Regions from separate parts of the Homo sapiens genome. Here region 2 is linked to region 1. Evidence: promoter capture Hi-C in human tissues and cell types (Jung and others, 2019). All regions are on one chromosome and are shown on one strand. The core of a region is centred on a gene start or on the middle of the fragment in contact, and the rest is flanking DNA. Distances in the headings are between cores, read along the strand shown.

Region 1 (5,072 bases), core at 687-3,186:
GCGCCTGGGGCGGGGTGGGTTGAGGGGAAGCCTCACCCACCTCTCTGTGCTCCCGGACCGCACTAACAGGTTGGCGGAGGAGATTGCCTTCCTGGAGAGCTTCTGCCGAGGCCGCTCTGAGGGGGATGAGGAGGAGGAAGAATTTCTTCGCGGCCTGGTGGGGGCATAGTGAAGGTCATTCCCTCCAACTGTACTCTGCAATCCTACCACCCCTCCCAGCTTCCGCCACAGGGCCACAGGACACCTACGTGTCAGCACGCTGTGGGGGCTGCAAGGGCCTGAGGATCCCCGGGGGGCCAGGGGAGCCAGCACCACTGCTGCTGCTGCCCCCTCCTTCAGATTGGGTCCCGCTAGGCTCTTCGCTGGCCCCCTGAGGGGCTGGGGGTCCATTGCTCAGGCCAGGGGGTCCAGGGGATGACTTGAGCTCCACCTCTGTCTCCGTCTGGGTGCCTCGGCTCACCAAGGAAGGGGTGCACGTGGGTGGCAGTCCTGGGGGGGCTGCAAGACTGCTGGAGAGATGTTGAATTAACCTGAAGCCCCAGAGGCCCCAAGGAGGAGGAAAAATGGGGTGTGATGACATGCATACCTGTCCCCCGGAGGAGCTGGTGTGCCAGAGCCCTGCAGGGAGGAAGGGGGCACCTGCAGCCGCAGCAGGCGAAGGGCTTCTGCCAGGGCTGCCTTTACCAGTTCCATCTCCTGCTCCTGCACCCGAAGCCGCTGGCTCAGAGACTGGAGGGCCTCCCGAGCAGGGCCGTCACCTGGGAAAAGGGCAAGAGGTACTCAGAATGTACCCATCACCTGAAGAAAGCGTAGAGGGGATTCTGTCTCCCCACAACTTTACATGTGTCCGGTAGGACTGCCCCTTTCAGGCAGCCCCAGGCTTGAATGCTCGTCCAGAGGGGAGGAGACGGTGGTAAAGGATCAAGGGCCTCCTTCTGGCAGGGCAGGCGAGAAACCTGGCAAAGCTCCCTTCCTGCTGCCGTCTCAGCCTCCGCAAAGACTGGGAGTACCATGGAGTACCGGGGGGGAAATATGGAGTACTGCCGAGGAACGTGGGAGCCACAGAGAGAGGCGCCGCACTGGTGAGGGCAGGGACCGCAGCCCTCCCCACGCGCCCCCAGCAAGCTCAGGTCTCCAGCGAAAGCTGAGTAACTGAGCCGGGGGAACACCAGGAGAGAGAACGGGGTGCGGGAATGGAGTCATACTGAGGACCCAGAGTACAAGAAAAGAGATCCAGAGTGACAGGAGAGAGTGTGAGTGGTGAGCAGAGTCACAGTGAAGGTCTCAGGGGGCAGTGGGGATCAGAAGGAAAAAGACCTGAAATACCACGAGAAGAGGCCCGGAGTAACGCAGGGGGCAGGGAAACATCGAGGGGCCCGGAGTTACGTGGGGCGTAGAATGACGCTGGGGAAGCCCGAAGTGACAGCAAGACCCAAGCAACTAGGGAGGGCGACCGGAGGAACTGTGGAGGATGCTCGGAGCCCCTGGGGCGGAGGAGCACGCGGGGACGCCTCCAGACAGCCGTCCAGCTCTGGCATAACCCGACGAGCCGGGCGCTCCGGGAAGGGGCACGCCGCCCGCCCCGCCCCGTACTCACCGGGCCCCGCGGCCCCGTCCATCCGGCCCCCGGGTTGCTCCGAGCGGCGGCGGCGGAGGAGGCGTCTAAGCCGCGGGGGCCACGGCCGGGGAGAGGGGAAGGGGAAGCACCCCGGGGCGCGCGCGAAGGGCGCCGTACCACCACCCCGAGGGGGCGCTGTCGGGCGCGGGGAAGGGGCCTGGAGGGGGCGCTGTGGGCCCGGGGCCGCAGTCTCCAGACCCCCCCGGGCCCTCGGACTCTCCCGGGGCCGCTCTCGGCTCCCGGGGGTGGGGTGGCAGGGCCGTCCGGTGCCACAGCGCCGCAGCACAAACAGGCGCCGGACGCGGAGCCGCCAGGAAGCGCGGGAGGGGGGGCGGGCCCGAGGGGGGGCCGGGCCGCTTGGTAACCCCTCCCTGTCCGGGCCTCGCCGCTCAGTACGGGGGCGGGGCTAGCCGGCTGACCCCCTGGCCTACTCCCGGCCTCCGGCTCCAGGCCCTTCCCGGATCCCCGCCCCCGGATTCCCAGGGGACGGGGAAGGGAGCGCCCGCCCCGATATCTCCGCCCCCCAGCCCCTAACCCCTCAGGGTTGAGCGGACCAACCCCACCACTTCCGCGAGGGGCAGGGGCGGGGTCACAAAACGGGCCCTCGGCCTAGGGGCGGAGTTTCTCGTAAGGGGCAAGGCCAAGGCATCTTGTATTGGGGCTGACAGGGGGGCGGGTTATTAGGGCTGAGGATGGGAGGATGCTCAGGGTATTGGGGTCAGGGTGGCATTAGCCCAGCTCAAGCCGGGCCGGGCTGACTCAGCATCCTGCCCCAGCCAGCTTCCATCCCTGACACCTCTGCATTCCCTTGGGCAGAGATGGGAGATGGCGCCGGTGTTGCCCCTGGTGCTGCCCCTGCAGCCCCGCATCCGCCTGGCACAAGGGCTCTGGCTCCTCTCCTGGCTGCTGGCGCTGGCTGGTGGCGTCATCCTCCTCTGTAGTGGGCACCTCCTGGTCCAGCTAAGGCACCTTGGCACCTTCCTGGCTCCCTCCTGTCAGTTCCCTGTCCTGCCCCAGGCTGCCCTGGCAGCGGGCGCGGTGGCTCTGGGCACAGGACTAGTGGGTGTAGGAGCCAGCCGGGCAAGTCTGAATGCAGCTCTATACCCTCCCTGGCGAGGGGTCCTGGGCCCGCTGCTGGTGGCTGGCACGGCTGGTGGGGGGGGGCTCCTGGTCGTCGGCCTCGGGCTAGCCCTGGCTTTGCCTGGGAGTCTGGATGAGGCGCTGGAGGAGGGCCTGGTGACTGCCTTGGCTCACTACAAGGACACAGAGGTGCCTGGGCACTGTCAGGCCAAAAGGCTGGTGGATGAGCTGCAACTGAGGTACCACTGCTGCGGGCGCCACGGGTACAAGGATTGGTTTGGGGTCCAGTGGGTCAGCAGCCGTTACCTGGATCCCGGTGACCGGGATGTGGCTGAGTGAGTGATTTGCGTCTCCCTTCCTCCTCCTCCTCCTCCCTGGACAGGCTCCCTCCTGCTGCCTTGAATCCCCACCTCGCTCAGAGGGGCAATAAGTAGAACATAGTGGCTGAGAGACTGGTTACAGCTCTGCCATTTATTAGCTGTGAAACCCAGGGCATGTTACCAAACCACCCTGGGCCCATTCCTTCACCTGTAAAATGGAAATAATAGTACTTATCTGATAGAGTTGTTGTGAAGATGTGAATTATGCTTGGCTGGCACATAGTACAGCAGTCAGTAAATGTTTTACTATTCTTTTTCCCTTCTGAACACCTGTGCCCTTCAGTCCCTCCCCCAGGCCTCTATCTCCAGACATCCTAACCCCTCTGTCCCTCCCTTTGCAGCCGGATCCAGAGCAATGTAGAAGGCCTATACCTGACTGATGGGGTCCCTTTCTCCTGTTGCAACCCCCACTCACCCCGGCCTTGCCTGCAAAACCGTCTTTCAGACTCCTACGCCCACCCCCTGTTCGATCCCCGACAACCCAACCAAAACCTCTGGGCCCAAGGGTGCCATGAGGTGCTGCTGGAGCACTTGCAGGACTTGGCAGGCACACTGGGTAGCATGCTGGCTGTCACCTTCCTACTGCAGGTGAGTCAGCAAAGCATCTGACACCTCCTCCCACCCGGGACTCCTCCCTGCCTCCAACCCTGGGCCTCTTGGAACCGCTGACTCTCCCTGACTCTTTCCCCTTGCTTCCCCCACAGGCTCTGGTGCTCCTTGGCCTGCGGTACCTGCAAACAGCACTGGAGGGGCTTGGAGGGGTCATTGATGCGGGAGGAGAGACCCAGGGCTATCTCTTTCCCAGTGGGCTGAAAGATATGCTGAAAACAGCATGGCTACAGGGAGGGGTTGCCTGCAGGCCAGCACCTGAGGAGGCCCCACCAGGAGAAGCACCTCCCAAGGAGGATCTATCTGAGGCCTAGAGGCCTGGAGCTTGGGGTGAGGAAGAGGGAGGGATGGACAAGTCTGAAAACCTCACAACTCCTTACCAAGGCTCCAGGTTGGGGGGATCGTAGGATTAGAGGGGCTAAGGATAGTCAGCGAGCTGGACTGGGGTAAGAAAGAAAACCAGATGTCCTAGGGCCTAGCCCTTGTAGTCAGAACCACCAGGGAACAGCAAAGAACAGAGTGATGGGAAAGTGACATGAGAAGGCCTGGAGGCTGATTCTGATATAGACTCAATAAAGTTTTTGGATGGAAGCAATTGCTTTTTCTTGTCAAGGGGATGGGGGCCTGGGAGAACTGATTTCTGTCTGATGGAGCAGCTAGGACTCCAAAGTTTGGACCCTGGCTCGACCTGTGCAGCAACAGGAGCCCACATCTGTAAGGATCAGAAAGCAAGAACCCAATGTAAGAAGCAAAGGAAAACAAGAGGCCCCTCCAGGTTGAGATTCTTTATTCTGGAGGTAGGAAGGGGGTCAGCATGCTCAGGTGGGAAGGGTCCAGCCCAGCTCCTCCAGCCCCCCAGTGCATGCCCAGCCCCAATAAGTTACCCAGTTACTCAGCTGCCCTCCCTCCTGGGTCCATCTGTCCTTCTGTTCCACCCTAGACAGGGCCAACCTGACTCAACACAAGGGCTGCTTGTCCCCAGCCTGTGGGCAGTGCCACACGGCAGGCTAGGGGAGGGGTGAAGCAGCAGGACCATGCCCTGGGCCTGGAGGGGCAGAGGGGCCACTTCTGGCTCCAAGGGTCAGGACTTGGAAAACCACATCCTGGGCAGGCCTGGGGCCCAGTCCCACAAGGTCTGTGCCTGAAAAGAGGTGGTAGTTGGGGTGGGGCCGCCATCACACCTCAATTGCTGGGTCTGAGCCCCGGCCCTGCCGCTGCAGCTGCTCCTCCTGCTTCATCTTGGGCTTCTCTGTCCGAGTATGCCACACCAGTACCTGTGCCAGGAGGGATGCAGTGAGAGCCAGGCCCAGCTGCAGCCAGGCCTCTGGGTCCCCGAGCCTGGAATGGATTCTCTAACCCTATCGACATATACAGTATAGGCTTCA
Region 2 (5,072 bases), core at 1,788-4,287, 450 kb before region 1:
CTTCATCCCTGGGATGCAAGCCTGGTTCAACATAAGCAAATCAATCAAGGTAATTCATCACATAAACAGAACCAATGACAAAAACCACGATTATCTCAATAGATGCAGAAAAGGCATTCGACAAAATTCAACACCCTTCATGCTAAAAACTCTCAATAAACTAGGTATTGATGGAACATATCTCAAAATAATAAGAGCTATTTATGACAAACCCACAGCCAATATCATACTGAATGGGCAAAAATTGGAAGCATTCCTTTTGAAAACCACCACAAGACAAGGATGCCCTCTCTCACCACTCCTATTCAACATAGTATTGGAAGTTCTGGCCAGGCCAATCAGGCAAGGGAAAGAAATAAAGTGTATTCAAATATGAAAAGAGGAAGTCAAATTGTCTCTGTTTGCAGATGACATGATTGTATATTTAGAAAACTCCACCATCTCAGCCCAAAATCTCCTTAAGCTGATAAGCAACTTCAGCAAAGTCTCAGGATACAAAATCAATGTGCAAAAATCACAAGCATTCCTATACACCAATAATAAACAGAGAGCCAAGTCATGAGTGAACTCCTGTTCACAATTGCTACAAAGAGAATAAAATACCTAGGAATACAACTTACAAGGGATGTGAAGGACCTTTTCAAGGAGAACTACAAACCACTGCTCAAGGAAATAAGAAAGGACACAAATAAATAGAAAAACATTCCATGTTCATGGATAGAAAGAATCAATATCGTGAAAATTGCCATACTGCCCAAAGTAATTTATAGATTCAATGCTATCCCCATCAAGCCGCCATTGACTTTCTTCACAGAATTGGAAAAAACTACTTTAAATCTCATATGGAACCAAGAAAGAGCCCGCATGGCCAAGACAATCCTAAGCAAAAAGAACAAAGCTGGAGCCATCACACTACCTGACTTCAAACTATAGTACAAGGCTACAGTAACCAAAACAGCATGGTACTGGTACCAAAACAGATATATAGACCAATGGAACAGAACAGAGGCCTCAGAAATAACACCACACATCTACAACCATCTGATCTTTGACAACCCTGACAAAAACAAGCAATGGGGAAAGGATTCCCTATTTAATACATGGTGTTGGGAAAACTGGTAGCCATATTCAGAAAACTGAAACTGGACCCCTTCCTTACAGCTTATACAAAAATTAACTCAAGATGGATTAAAGACTTAAATGTAAGACCTAAAACCATAAAAATGATAGAAGATTCTTAGGCAATACCATTCAAGACATAGGTATGGGCAAAGAGTTCATGTCTAAAACACCAAAAGCAATGGCAACAAAAGTCAAAATTGACAAATGGGATATAATTAAACTAAAAAGCTTCTGCACAGCAAAAGAAACTATCATCAGAGTGAACAGGCAATCTACAGAATGGGAGAAAATTTTTGCAATTTATCCATCTGCCAAAGGGCTGATATCCAGAATCTACAAAGAACTTAAACAAATTTACAAGAAACAAACAAACAACCCCATTAAAAAGTGGGCAAAGGATATGAACAGACACTTCTCAAAAGAAGACATTTATGCAGCCAACAAACATGAAAAAAAGCTCATCATCACTGGTCATTAGAGAAATGCAAATCAAAACCACAATTAGATACCATCTCACACCAGTTAGAATGGTGATTATTAAAGTCAGGAAATAACAGGTGCTGGTGAGGATGTGGAGAAATAGGAACACTTTTACTATCAGTGGGAGTGTAAATTAGTTCAACCATTGTGGAAGACAGTGTGGCGATTCCTCAGGGATCTAGAACTAGAAATACCATTCTGTCCAGCAATCCCATTAGTGGGTATATACCCAAAGGATTTTAAATCATTCTACCATAAAGACACATGCACATGTATGTTTATTGCGGCACTATTCACAACAACAAAGACTTGGAACCAACCTAAATGTCCATCAATGATAGATTGGATAAAGAAAATCTTGCACATATACACCATGGAATACTTTGCAGCCATAAAAAAGGACGAGTTAATGTCCTTTGCAGGGACATGAATGAAGCTGGAAACCATCATCCTCAGCAAACTAACACAGGAACAGAAAACCAAACACTGCACGTTCTCACTCATAAGTGGGAGATGAACAAGGAGAACACATGGACACAGCGAGGGGAACATCACACACTGGGGCCTGTCGGCAGGTGAGAAGCTAGGGGAGGGATAGCATTAAAAGAAATACCTAATGTAGGTGACGAGTTGATGGGTGCAGCAAACCACCATGGCACATGTATGCCTATGTAACAAAACTGCACATTCTGCACCTGTACCTCAGAATTTAAAGTATAATAAGTAAATAAATAAATAAGAAAACAGGAGAAAATCCTAGTGTCTTTGTGTTTGGCACAGGTTTTTTACATATGACACCAAAAGTGTGAACTATAAAAGCAAAAGTCAATTGGACTTCATCAAAATTAGAAACTTTTGCTCTTTAAAAGTTACTGTTACTCAGCATCTTTCATTCTGCCCCGGGGTGGGATGGTACAAATAGCCCATCCTGCCGTATTCTCAGGAATAGAACGGGGCTTGATCCTCACCACTTGGTTAGGATGAAGATGAGAAAACCTGGGATTATCCAGGCTTTCTTGCTTCAGTAGGACCCATTTATGGATGCTAACCCCACCCTTCACTGTAGCCCACCCCGTTGCATGCCTGGCACATTTCCTCTTGTCAAGTACCTGCTAGCTACCTGCCATGTGAGGCTTTTCCTGTCTCCCTTAAGTAAACTAAGCCACAGCTTTTTTCTGGCTCCATCTGGGCTTTTCACAGCACATGCCTAGTCCACGTGTTGCAGTGGGATCTGGGGCCTTGAACTGTGGGTACCACTTGCTACTGAGCAACTGTGGCTGCTGGCTGAGTTCTGCGGGGGCAAGACCCATAGCAGCCTTTCTTCCCTCTGGGCTTCCATGGTGCAAACATTCCTCCAGGTTTAAGAAAGAAGAAAGAGCAGGCATGAGAAGGAAAGTGGGCTGTAACCTGTATTCCAAGGGATTGCAAACAATGCAGATCGCAGGTTATTCTCCTATCTGAACCTCTTGGAGCTTGATTCTGAGGCTTCCTTGGACATCTATAGAAACCTGGGTAGCAGCACTCAGAGCTAAGCTGAGTTACCTGATGCCTGAAGCACCTGCTCTGTACTCCTTACAGTGCTCACTGCTCTGAGCCAGCAAAGTAGAAAGTAACTTACATGGCCAACCCCAACCACATCCCCACTCCTGTCCAGTAATTTTGAATGTTCTCAACCAAAGAGATCTACCCTGCATGCTGGAAGGAGGAAGTAAACTACAGCTTGCAAAGGGGAGTTCTTTTTTGTTTTTGTTTTTTTCCTTTCTGAGACAGAGTTTCACTCTTGTTGCCCAGACTGGAGTGCAATGGTGCAATCTCAGCTCACTGCAACCTCCGCCTCCCGAGTTCAAGTGATTTTCCTGTCTCAGCCTCCCTAGTAGCTGGGATTACAGGCACATACCACCATGCCTGGATAATTTTGTATTTTTAGTAGAGATGGGGTTTCACCATGTTGGCCTGACTGGTCTCGAACTCGCGACCTCAGGTGATCCACCCACCTCGGACTCCCAAAGTGCTGGGATTACAGGTGTGAGCCACCACACCCGGCCAGGGGGGCTTTTAAAGTGCCTTTTAAGTAGTCATTCCTTTGTGGGGGTATTTGCTTTTATTGCAGTTTATTAAGCCTGAAACAGCTGACATGAAGATGGATACTTTGACTCAGGTTTGGTTGCCTGATCCATGAAGCTTTAATCTTACTTGCCCACAGATACACACACACATACCCCTACCTGTATTAATTTGCACTTTAAATATGCCCATTCCTCTGCTATTATGATATAGGAAAGTTGATAGTATCAGATTAATTTCAGGTGAACTATTCTACCTATAAAAGAATAGGAGCTAATAGGAGCTCCTATAAAAGAACAGGAGCTAATAACCCATGAAAGCTATGACGGTTTTTTTTTTTTTTGGATCTCTATTCTTCCTGCCAGCTCTGCCCCTGGCCTGGCAGGATTGGTTGAGTGGGGAATTGGTCCTTGAGAATTGGAGTAAGGGATCTTGAGGAATGTGTTTAGTGTCTTTGAGTTGTGATTTGAGAATAACAGAGGCAGGAGCCCTCTGCAGGGCTCCTGTCCTACTTGCCCCTGGGACACTGTAATAAGACAAGTATGGATTATGCCCAGTGAGGACTCCTATAACTAATTATTTAACTCAGAAAGTGCCCCAGAGGTGCTGGGGGTGCAGCAGAAAGGACTGGAGGGGTGCAGCCACTACTGCGGGAATGGTAGGGAAAGGGGCTAGGGGCTAGGGGCTAGAGGCCTTCTGCCCCAGTTATCTTATGTGGTGTTTTTTGTTTTGTTTTGTTTTGTTTTGTTTTGTTAGTTTGTTTGTTTGTTTTTTGAGAAGGAGTCTCGCTCTGTCACCCAGGCTGGAGTGCAGTGGCATGATCTCGGCTCACTGCAACCTCTGCCTCCTGAGTTCAAGCTATTCTCCTGCCTCAGCCTCCCGAGTAGCTGGGCTTACAGGCATCCGCCACCATGCCTGGCTAATTTTTGTGTTTTCAGTAGAGATGGGGTTTCTCCATGTTTGTCGGCCAGGCTGGTCTCGAACTCCTGACCTCAGGTGATCTACCTACCCTCCGCCTCCCAAAGTGCTGGGATTACAGGCTTGAGTGACTGCACCTGGCCCAAGTTATCTTACAGTGTCATTGTTTGCATGTTTGTGATGGCCCTAGACTTAACAGATAGAGAGCAGGCTCTATGGCTTAGAGAAAGACAGAAAACAGACAGTGATTGATTTAGGGTATGTAGGTAATGTGTAAGCCCAGGGCAGTGATGGTGGCTTCATCTGGTCAGAATTTCATCAAAGACACCTCTCGGGGCTAAAAAAGACCAGACTTTTTTTTTCTTTTTTCTTTTTTTTTGCTACTTGGGCAACACTGGCTTGATCTAGGTGACCTCTACGTTCCCTAGATGGACAACTTGTGTGGCCCCCAAACCTCTCCGTCTTACCCCAGTACCCCTTATTATCCT

The links. The method cuts DNA at HindIII sites, captures the fragments that hold promoters and counts their contacts. A contact is called where the count stands out against the background at its distance.
Region 2: a fragment that was not itself captured here is called in contact with the fragment with the promoter of EML3 in region 1 in 1 of the 25 tissues and cell types used here (dorsolateral prefrontal cortex).

The regions. Positions count from the first base shown.
Region 1 is chr11:62,610,839-62,615,910 of GRCh38, forward strand. EML3 (EMAP like 3) reads right to left here and starts at 1,937. Exons shown (of 22, transcript NM_153265.3): 1 at 1,598-1,937; 2 at 587-758; 3 at 249-506; 4 at 41-154. The coding sequence starts at 1,619. It overlaps ROM1 (retinal outer segment membrane protein 1), which reads left to right and starts at 2,419. Exons shown (of 3, transcript NM_000327.4): 1 at 2,419-3,033; 2 at 3,420-3,666; 3 at 3,783-4,278. The coding sequence starts at 2,444. The coding sequence ends at 4,001. It overlaps B3GAT3 (beta-1,3-glucuronyltransferase 3), which reads right to left. Exons shown (of 5, transcript NM_012200.4): 5 at 4,458-4,961. The coding sequence ends at 4,863. RefSeq lists enhancers at 462-1,020, 1,021-1,580, 2,354-2,413 and a silencer at 1,424-2,303. The HindIII fragment of the contact is 22,621 bases long and covers 1-5,072 here.
Region 2 is chr11:62,160,592-62,165,663 of GRCh38, forward strand. No RefSeq gene overlaps it. Among named protein-coding and RNA genes, the nearest start is that of SCGB1D1, 27 kb to the right of the region's middle. The HindIII fragment of the contact is 4,748 bases long and covers 664-5,072 here.